Linked DNA regions of Homo sapiens: all the other regions are linked to region 3. The links are contacts of gene promoters, found by promoter capture Hi-C in blood cells and fetal thymus (Javierre and others, 2016). All regions are on one chromosome and are shown on one strand. Each heading gives the region's core, a stretch centred on a gene start or on the middle of the fragment in contact. The rest is flanking DNA. Distances are from core to core; before and after follow the strand shown. Region 1 overlaps TMEM214 (transmembrane protein 214). Region 2 overlaps MAPRE3 (microtubule associated protein RP/EB family member 3). Region 3 holds the start of DPYSL5 (dihydropyrimidinase like 5).

What was found. Contacts are between HindIII fragments. The CHiCAGO score rates a contact against its expected background, and 5 or more counts as called.
Region 1: a contact is called between a fragment that was not itself captured here and the fragment with the promoter of DPYSL5 in region 3, in 1 of 17 cell types (endothelial precursors). The highest score is 5.0, in endothelial precursors.
Region 2: a fragment that was not itself captured here is called in contact with the fragment with the promoter of DPYSL5 in region 3 in 2 of 17 cell types (megakaryocytes and endothelial precursors); the score reaches 7.2 in megakaryocytes.

What each region holds. Positions count from the first base shown.
Region 1 is chr2:27,034,429-27,037,943 of GRCh38, reverse strand. It overlaps TMEM214 (transmembrane protein 214), which reads right to left. Exons shown (of 17, transcript NM_017727.5): 3 at 2,659-2,809; 4 at 2,216-2,350; 5 at 1,892-1,974; 6 at 1,352-1,457; 7 at 1,158-1,239; 8 at 766-867; 9 at 242-383. Among named protein-coding and RNA genes, the nearest start is that of TMEM214, 3.2 kb to the right of the region's middle. The HindIII fragment of the contact is 4,998 bases long and covers 1-3,515 here.
Region 2 is chr2:26,991,347-26,994,421 of GRCh38, reverse strand. All of the region lies in intron 1 of MAPRE3 (microtubule associated protein RP/EB family member 3), which reads right to left. All of the region lies in intron 3 of MAPRE3-AS1 (MAPRE3 antisense RNA 1), which reads left to right. Among named protein-coding and RNA genes, the nearest start is that of MAPRE3-AS1, 22 kb to the left of the region's middle. The HindIII fragment of the contact is 3,116 bases long and covers 21-3,075 here.
Region 3 is chr2:26,846,627-26,850,013 of GRCh38, reverse strand. DPYSL5 (dihydropyrimidinase like 5) reads right to left here and starts at 1,882. Exons shown (of 13, transcript NM_020134.4): 1 at 1,760-1,882. The HindIII fragment of the contact is 4,603 bases long and covers 1-3,387 here.

The DNA.
Region 1 (3,515 bases), core at 455-2,954, 190 kb before region 3:
GAGCTCAAAGATCACTATCTGCAAGAGACGGGCATCAGAAACCACCCAGACCTGAATGTGCTGTCTCTTGGGATCCATCTTCTGAGGGTGAAGCTCGAGTGAGCGGGGCAGGCAGCTGTCAACAGGGAGCTAAGGAAAAGCCTCAGAATGGGCTCTGTGAAGGCAAGGCCTTTGTCAGCAGATAGGGACCGCTACAGCTGACCCCTGGGGAAGGAGAAAAAGCCTCCCACCATATCCTCACCTCTTTCTTCATCTCAGGGGGACAGCTAGGGGTGGCTCTGGACAGGAAAGAAGGGAAGTAGGTATGCAGGGTGGAATCCGGCTTTGCTCCAAATGCCAGCACTTTCAGTCGGGGGTAGAGCTGACACAGCTGCTCCTGCAGGCTGGGTGGGGTGGGGAGGAAAGACAGGCATAAGCTATAAGTGGAGCTGTATGATATGAACCTTTTGCTTGCTTCAGAGCCCATGCCTGCCTGTGGGGAATAGCCACTGAGGACCTTGCAATGGCTCTGAATCTTTTTACTCAGAGACTCCTTGGAAATCTGTTGAAAGCCATGGACCCTATCCCTAAGAAAATGCCCATATGCCAATCACACTCAAGGGTCCATATAATTTCAAGGGGTCACTGTTCCCTTGAAACCTACTCTTGAACTTCCAGGTTGCAAATCTCAGATCTAGGATGGCTGGGGAAGGAGAGACGGGAATATGTAGTGTGGTTCTGGTGCTGTGGTCCCTTCTCAGCAGGTGTGCCCCAGAGCAGTCCTACCTGGGTGTCAGGGAGTTGTTCGGCATATAGGCAAAGTCCAGAAGTGGGAAGAAGTCCTTGGGGCCAATCATGCCGAAGCCCTTGGTAAGGTTGGGATGCATCCTGTGGGGATGAAGAAACAGGCTCGCTGGACACCACCACCCATGCCAGCTGTTTTGGCCATGACCCCAGCTAAGCCAACATCTAGGAAAAAGGGTATAAACTCTACCCCATCTGCCAGCCCTTAATAGCTCCCTCTTCTTCCTTCCTCACCATCACATTCTAAGGTGGTGGGAGAAGCTGGTCCTGATTTTCCTCATATCCATGGAGACCAAGATCATAGCCTCCCATTTTGCTATAACAGCCACTTGGGACACCCTGAGCCTTCCCCTTGCTGCCCTCCCATTACTCACAGGAGCAGCCGATCCAGGTATGTGATGGCAAAGGGAGACAGAGACTTGATGCCCAGCACAGGCAGCATGATCCCCAGCCACACTGCAGGGGTAAAAGTCACGAGGGAGGCCTCAGGCTTGCACCTACTGGGGGCATCAAAGAGGAGTTTTCCAGCTCCGAGACCCTCCCTCTTTCTTCCCTATTTCCCTGTTACCTTTCAGTCCCTCGGTGAGGTTGGCAAAACCTGCTTGACCCAGGGCCCACATGATGGTGAGACACTTTGCTGGTCGGCTCTGGTGGGACCTCAGCAGTTCCAGGAACTGAGGAGACCGGTGGGGAAGGCAGATTGGGATAGGACAAAACACCAGGAGCACCCCCCAAAGCCAGGAGGGAAGGGAGATGTCAACTGGAAGAGGGAGGACAGGCCGAGCAAGAGTGGAGCACTATGGCCACGTGGTGCAGGTTCTGTTTGTGGGCTTCGCCCATACTCTGCCATTTACTGGATGACTGAGCCTAGGAAAGTTACTGAACTCCTCTGTGGCTCAATCTTTTCATCTATAAAAATGGGAAATAATAGCAGTACCTTGCTCCTATGTTTCCAGAGCACACACACAGGATAGGTGCTAATAGTGTTACCCATTATTACTAGGCTTACAGGTCTTCCACTATCCCAAACCTGAGTCCAACAACATAGATTCTGCCCAGCCTCCCCAGTCCTAGCTTCCTAGCATCCCCACCATCACTGAGAGCTCACCTTGCCTAGGTTTGCCGTGGCAATCTTGGGCTTGTCTTGCAGGATGGCCTGGATACAGATGCGGTAACCATGTAGTGACTCCCCTGGAGAGATACACATTCTCACACCTACTCACATTATTTGGCATCCCAAACCTGAAATCTCCCATTTGTCAGCGGTGAGCCCAGGCCCCAGGTCCACTGACTCCTAACTTCCTCCACACTTTCCAAAAAGTGTTAAGGTTAGCACATTTCTCTGCTGGAAACAGAACCACTGAGTGGTACTGGAAGCAGGAAAAAAAGGAGGAGGCTCCCAAGATGGTCATCCCTCCCGTGCCCCTTTCACCTGGTGTCTTATCCAGCTCTTGCAACATGGTGAACAGACAGTGGTCAAAAAAGAGCTCCAGAGACCCTGCTGCCTTCGCCAGCAGCCCTCGGATGATCCCACGTAGCTCCCGGCTCACCAGGCTGTAGGGATAATCTAAGGCCCATAGGCCTCAATGTGAGTGCTAGGACCAGACACCCATCAGCTCTGAGAACTGTGGTGCTCTCCCTGGGAATGGTGAGTGGAGGCAAAGGCCCCTGCACTGAGGCTGGGATCCTTCCTCTGAGGAGGCCCAGAGGGAGGATCACAGAATGAGGCCCAGAAACATTCACAGTCACGATGATTTGAGACCAGCCCAAATCACCCATGGAAATCAGGACAGTGTGGGGCACTGGGATCTGTTATACCACCCTTTTTGAATTTATTTGAACTTGTCTGAGCTTGAGGAAGCTGGAAGGACTTACCATGAGTATGCTGGCTCAGCGTGGGTTCACTTAGAGGAGCTTGTAGCTTGTAGTTGAGATAGCTGGCCAGGTCCTTCAACCATATGGATGGGTTTCCAGAGAACACACTCTGGCTCTTGTCCAGTTCCTTCTGCAGGTCTGCCACATCCAGCTGCCAGGGACAATCCCCCAACCCCCCACCATGGCGAGTTGTGAGTGAGGGAGTAAAGAAATGGGGTAGGGGTGGGAAAATGGTTGAACTAGGTGGCAGTAGGAAGAAGGGATTCCATTTTTAAGCATAAGAACATGGAATGCTGCAATTCTGCTGTACCTACATCTTTAAGAATGGAACAGGACAGCTGAAAATGCTGATCTCAGGCCCTATCCTCTCAGGCCCTCCACATGTTCAAGAGGAAAACAGAGGGCCAGGCGCGGTGGCTCACGCCTGTAATCCCAGCACTTTGGGAGGCCAAGGTGGGCGGATCACCTGAGGTCAGGAGTTCAAGACCAGCCTGGCCAACGTAGTGAAACCCCATCTCTACTAAAAATACAAAAATTAGCCAGGCGTGGTGGCAGACGCCTGTAATCCCAGCTGCTTGGGAGGCTGAGGCAGGAGACAGAGGTTGCAGTGAGCTGAGATCACACCACTGCACACCAGCCTGGGCGACAGAGGGAGACTCTAACTCAAAAAAAAAAAAAAAAAAAGAGGAAAACAGAGGACAAGACAGAAAATGAAAGATCAGTATTTCCATAGGACAGAGAATCATAACCAGTTTCTCCATCTCCTCCCTGGTGTTCCTGGGTCTTCAAGGCTTTCCTCTTACCAATCCATGTTTCCCTATAAATTTTCCATTTCCTTTCTATTCTAAGTGCAGGCA
Region 2 (3,075 bases), core at 329-2,828, 140 kb before region 3:
AGAGGAGAATTAATCAAGCTTGAACCATGGTGTGGATAACACATAATTTCTTAACTTCCAACTGTATTTGCTCTGATTTCATGCTTATAAATCAAGCTCTGATTACCTTTCTGATTTTCAAGCCACCATGATACAGGGAAGAAGTATATTTATTAAATTGACTTTCTGGTACAAATGTGCCTAAGCAAATAAATGTAAGTCAGTTTTCTCAGGGCTTGGTGACCTCAAGAAAAGCTGATAATTAAGTTATCAGATCAAAATACCTGAGAGACTAGATCCTGAATTGTGTCAGTTTCCTCAGAACATGGCACACAGTAAAACAGTCAAGACAGCCAGATTATTATCATGTTTCTTTCAAAGTAGGCAAATGCAAAAGTATGCTGAAATGTTGGACAGCTCCCACACACAAAGATTAGGGCTCAAGTCAAATTCTGGGGTATTCTGGTAGCATTCCTTAATGTCAGTCTTCTCAATTAGTCTCTGTCTGGGGGGAGAGCGCCATCTCCTACTCAAGGAAGCATGGTTCTCAAGACATCCATCATGAGTTCTTGCTTTCCTGCCAGGCATGAACTTTTGGACACAATCAATGGTCATGGCCAAGTAGGGCCTACAGTAGTAGGATAAAGAACCAGAACTGTCCTATTTCCTAAATCCAGCAAAAATCGAGTTGGTAAGGCTGAGAAGGGGGCAGATGACTCCTCAGCTGGTCTTCAACCTGGCAATCTCATGGGGAGGGAGTCACATCCATACCAAGAGTTTAGTCACCACCTGAAGTGTTAGGGACATCAGGCAGGAGCTACACATCCTCCCGACCTCCCCAGAACTTTCCCTCAACAGGAATTTTTTCTATCCCTGGAACAACTTCTTTCTGTGACCTGGAGAAGGACTTAGCTCTAAGTAGAGAAACTGGTGTAATATGGTGGGGGACTCTGTAATTTTGACACCAAACAGCCTGAAGTGACTGATGATAGAACAGATGGTTAAGAAAGGAGCTTTAACAAACCAGTTTCTGGTTTTATTTTAATAATGTCCTAATTTTTTTTATTTTTCTTGAGATGAGTTCCACTCTTGTTGCCCAGGCTGGAGTACAGTGGCGCAATCTCGGCTTACTGCAATCTCCACCTCCTGGGTTCAAGCAACTCTCCTGCCTCAGCCTCCCGAGTAGCAGGGATTACAGGTGTGCACCACCACTCCCGGCTAAGTTTTTGTATTTTTAGTAGAGATGGGGTTTCATCATGTTGGCCAGGCTAGTCTCAAACTCCTGACCTCAGGTGACCTGCCCACCTTGGCTTCCAAAGTGCTGGGATTACAGGGGTGAGCCACTGCGCCTGGCTAATAACGTCCTAATATTTTACCTCATCAGGGTCTTCCAGTTAAAACATGCATGGTATTTCCAGAGAAAGGAAAAGTGGGAGCTATACAATCCCTATGACTAAACTGAAACTAGGGAAAGTAGCAGAATATAAAAAGGGCATGGAAGTACAACATGTGCAATAGGAAATAAAACAGAACACTGGATTTCTCAGGAGAGAAGCAACACATTATACAGAATCAACACTCCATGTAGGAAACAGAAGGGTTTCAAATCATCTTCTCACTTCTGGCCTACACAGTCTTCACAAGGATATCAATGAGTAAGATGCAATTGATCCTATTTGATTCTAGTTTTATGGAATGTATACCACATTTCATGATTGCAGTGGGGTGTGTTAAAACTATAACATGAATTCAAGGGCAGGGATGAGGCAGTATCTTACATTTGTCATTTTTAAATTCCAAAGCATGGCTGAAGTAGGTGCTTCATGTTTGCTGAGTGACCTGTCTTCTCCTCCCCTCAAATATCCATTCCAAACTCTTAGTATAGGTCAGGATTAAAAAAAAAAAAAAAAATTATCTGGGCCGGGTGCAGTGGTTCATGCCTGTAATCCCAGCACTTTGGGAGGCTGAGGCGGGTGGATCACCTGACGTCGGGAGTTCAAGACCAGCCTGATCAATGTGGAGAAACCCCATCTCTACTAAATTACAAAATTAGCCAGGCGTGGTGGTGCATGCCTGTAAACCCAGCTACTTGGGAGGCTGAGGCAGGAGAATCGCTTGAACCAGGGAGGTGGAGGCTGCAGTGAGATGAGATCGTACCACTGCACTCCAGCCTGGGCAACAAGAGCGAAACTCCATCTCAAAAAAAAAAAAAATTATCTGGTAACATTAGTCAGTGAGAATGAGTACTACGCTTCTCCTAAAATGTGACTTTAAAAGTATATTTTTGTCAAAAGGTATTGCTATAGCACTTAGATATAAATATAATAAATATGAACATACCTCTTTTATTCTTCTCCCTTAGTTATGGAGTAGTAACAGTTTCTGATTTTCCAAAATCATGAGATTAAAAAATTATACACATTCAATCTCTCTTAGGAATCTGGCACAAAGTATATGAGTGTGTGGTGGTGGTGGTGAAAGGCAGGGAATCAATTTCCACGTGTGGCCTAAGGAGGTCAAGGTGCAAAGTCTAGCATGATTTACGCAAGTTATTTCAATAAGAGAAGGAGAGGAGGAATGCCCGATGCTTTTAGTGGGATAGAGAGAACACAGACAGTTGTTACCCATTTACATCTGGCCCAATTTGGAGTCTGAGAATCTGATCTACAAATGCAAGACAGGATGCGTGCCTAGACGTTGCCAGGGCCTTCCAGAGAGACCATTTAGGCAATCTCATGATTACAGGATTCTGAAGGGATGGAAATAGAAAGGAGATAAACTGTGTGAAAATAGGCCAATTTCTTTTATTTATGTGGGGCTCTATAAAATGAATGTGGAATTCTATTGTTTAGAAAAAGAGTAGGGACTACCTCGGGGCAGGCAGACACAGCTGATAGAACTGGAGTAGGGATTTGAGAAAGCAAGCGGCAGTGACCCACAGACCATTTGTAGCCAATTGTCACCAACAAAGTCCTCTTCTCCCTATCACCACCACCAAACTGTTTCTTTTGTGGTGAGGCTGTAGGCAGTATTGGTCCAGCCACCACTATCACTTCCTTCCTGCTATTGTCTTTCCACTAGGACCAGACATACCAA
Region 3 (3,387 bases), core at 633-3,132:
CGCTGCACCGAGGCGACCTCCAGTCTTTGGCACCTGCGTCGCCGCCCGGCAGCTCCGCGCCGCTAACCACGCCGCGTCTCGGCAGCGGGTGGACAGCGCGGGGCGGGCGGCGGCGCTGCACCAGAAGGCACCCGAGCCGGAGTGGGGGGGTGGCTGTCTGCAGGCCCCCAGGCCGGGGGAGCGCCTCCCACACGGGATTCCCGGCGTGGCCAGGCCCCCATAAAACCCCAAAGCCAGCACGTGCCCGGAGGTTCCGCAGGGAGTATTCCCAGCACCAGAAAACTGCACCCTCGCGTCCTGGGTGGCCCTGGTTTGTCGTCGGATGGACACCAGGGTCGGCTATTGTTCTCCGGGTCTCCCCGAAGGGAGATCCGCCTCCCTGGCAGCACCTGCTGCTGGGCAAAGCCTTTCAGCTCCTCGAGAAAAGGGCGTGCCGTGGGCGCCGCGGAAGATCACAAAACCCTAAGCGAGTCGCTACCGGCTGGTTTCAAGCCTGGAGACAAAGCTCCTCACCAAGCCAGCCCAGCCCGGTCCCGGATCTGCCATCCTGGGTCCCTAACCCCGGTCCGAGGGCCACGCCCAGCCGGCCACCTGGGCCGCGGGGCCCCGCGCCTGGAGCTGAGGATCCTCGGGCCCGAGACCGCCTCTCAGCTGCTTGCCCCTCCCTCCTCGGGAGGCTCCCCTTCCCAGGAGGCCCCCCTCCCCCGCACAGCGCGGGTCTTCTCCTCGCTCCCGTCCTCCCTCCTCAAACCCAGGCGGCCTCCACCCGCCTGCATCCCTCCTCCCCTCCCCATTCTTCAGCAGAACCAGCCTCGCCGGGCGCCACCTGCACCGAGCTCCTTCCCTCGTTCTTCGGACCCGCCCCCGCCCCTTCTCTTTCCTCCTCAAACCCTAGTTCCCACTCCCTGCTCCCCGAGACCCACTACCTGTCCTAACCCAGCTCCCCAGCCTTCCCCATCCCCATCTTTTCTCAACCGAGGCCTCCCCTCGCCCTCTCCCGGCTTCTCTCCAGCTCAGACTACAGCCCCGTCCCCAGGCCCGGGGCGTCGACGTCGGTGCCCGCTGAGATCGATGCTGCAAGGCGGGCTCCCGCGCTGGGCTCCAGCCGAGGGACCCGGCTCGGCGCCCGCTCCGGGCTGGGCAGCCGCAGGAGGCCTTTGTGGCTCAGGCGGGAGGCTCGGAGGCGGCGGGCGAGTCCTCTGCAGGCGTCCGCTCCGTTAGCCGGGCGGTGGAACAGACCGCCGGGTCGGGTCCAGGCTGGGCAGATCCCAGCTCGGAGGCGAGAAGGACGGAGGGTGTGTATCTGGGTGGTGTGTGGGACCGGGGACAGCGCAGATCCTGGGACCGGCAGGACTGGCCCCCGGCCAGAGGCGCCCCCGCCCAGCCCTCCAGCGGTCCACTGCACCGCGCCCGGCTAGGAAAGCGGCCCACTGCGTGCTAGGCGCGAAACCCCTCGGCCGAGCCGCCTCCTCACCCCAGGGCTTTGCAACCCCGCGAGCACGCATTAAACGCTTACTATGAGCAAGGCCCGGCACGGCGCTTCGCGGGCGTACAAAGAGGACCCCAAGAGCGCCCCGGCTTAGCCCCGATGGCCACCTCCCAACCCCAAACCACACCTCCCGCCGCGTCCCCTGCGGCCGGGCCCCAGGCTCACCCGGCTCCCCGCCCTTTTGTGCGCCTCACGCAGAAACAGAAGGGGGAGAGGAGGATGTCCTAGCCCGGGAGGGGTAAGCCCACCGACCCCCCTGCCATCACCCACTCCTCCGAGATGCTGCGGCCGCGGGGGCCCGTGGCTCGGTCCGTCTCCGTCTCGCCGCGGCGCCGGAGCTGCGGGTGCTCGGGGCGGCGGCGGCTGCACGCGCGCTCGCTCGGGGGCCGCCTCAGCGCGCCCAGCGCGGGAGTCCAGAGTGGGGAGCGGGGGAGGGGCGCGTGTCGGGGGCTGGGAGCGGCCTCCGCCAATCACCGCGCGGCCGGCTCCTCCCGCCGCTCCCCACCTCAGCTAGCAGGTTAAGGGGAGGCGGGGACAGGCGGCGTCCCGCATCCTTGGCGCCGCGCGCCGCCGCCGCCTGGGGACTACAACTCCCGGCAGGCCCTGCTGCAGGGCCGGGGTCCGAGAGCGGACGGAGGGCGCGGCCGGAGAACTCACCGACCCCCCTAGCACCCGGCTCCGCGTTCCCTCGGGTTTCCATGGCGACTCAGGACACCACAAAGCCTGGACGCGCTGAGGCACGGGTCCCCAGGGAGGGCCGGGGGCGGTTCCGGAGGACACCCCGCCTCCCCTCCCCCAGCTGGATCCCACCCCAGGGGCTGAAACAATGCCGCGGCCGCCTCTCCCGGGCTGCGGCCGCGCTGCCCTCCGCCGCAGGACCCCGCCGAGGCCGCCTGGTTCGCGCCAAGACCCGCTCCGACGCCCGCGGGATTGCGGGATGCAAAGGGCCGGGTGGGCGTTATAGGAAAACTGTTCTCATGAACAAAGTGGACGGCCACTTGGGGCCACCGCAGTTCGCATCTGCACCCGGGGAGGTCTCGAACCCGGAGTGCGTTCTCTCCACTGAGAAGATTTTGCCCAGCGCCACGCGGGTGCTTCCCTGTCCAGAGCGCTCAGGCCCAGTGCCTGTCTTATTTCTGGCTTCTGTCAAGGGACAGCGAAGCCTTTGGAAATTATTTATAACCCAATTTACATTCGCTTCACCTGTTTCTTCATGTTTAAATACATACATAATTTACCAAAATAAACAAATCTAAAAAAGGAGAGGAAGGATCATCCCCGGTTTGTCCCACCTCCCTAGCTAATCCCGGTTCAAGCCTTTGCCATTGATCTGTGTTATTTTCTGCAGTTGTAATAATAGTTTGGATTAGTCATTTGCCTCTTTGCACTTAATGTCACTCCAAAGGCGTTGCGATGCGCGTTAAAATGCAGCATCAAGGACCTCCAAGCTGCAGCTGCAGAATCCCTCCCTCCCCGGGCTCCCCGGCGATCCGGTGGGGAGAGGAGTCCCCTGGCAGCCATGGCCTCGTGAGGTGGTTCTCTTTGCAGGATACTTTCAAACAAAATGGTGTTCACTACTCCGGGGGCGTGGAGGGGGTCCCCTCTCCCCATCTCAGCAAAATCTACCCGGGCGCAGGACCCGCAGAGCCCGCCAAGGCGGGGTTCCCTGCCGTCCTTCCCCAGAGAGCTTAGGGCCTGGACCAGGCCAGGCTGGCCTTTGAGGGATGCATTTCTGGATTACCCCACCCCTGAGTCTGCACTCCTTCTCCCCTTCCCAACTCCCGCCTGCTTGGTAAGCAGAGAGCAGGGAGCCCCCAGAGGAACCTCAAAGCATCCCTAACCCAGTGCAGCCCGGGATGTGGCTGTGAAAACTGCTCCAGCTTGGGGCACTGCCCTAT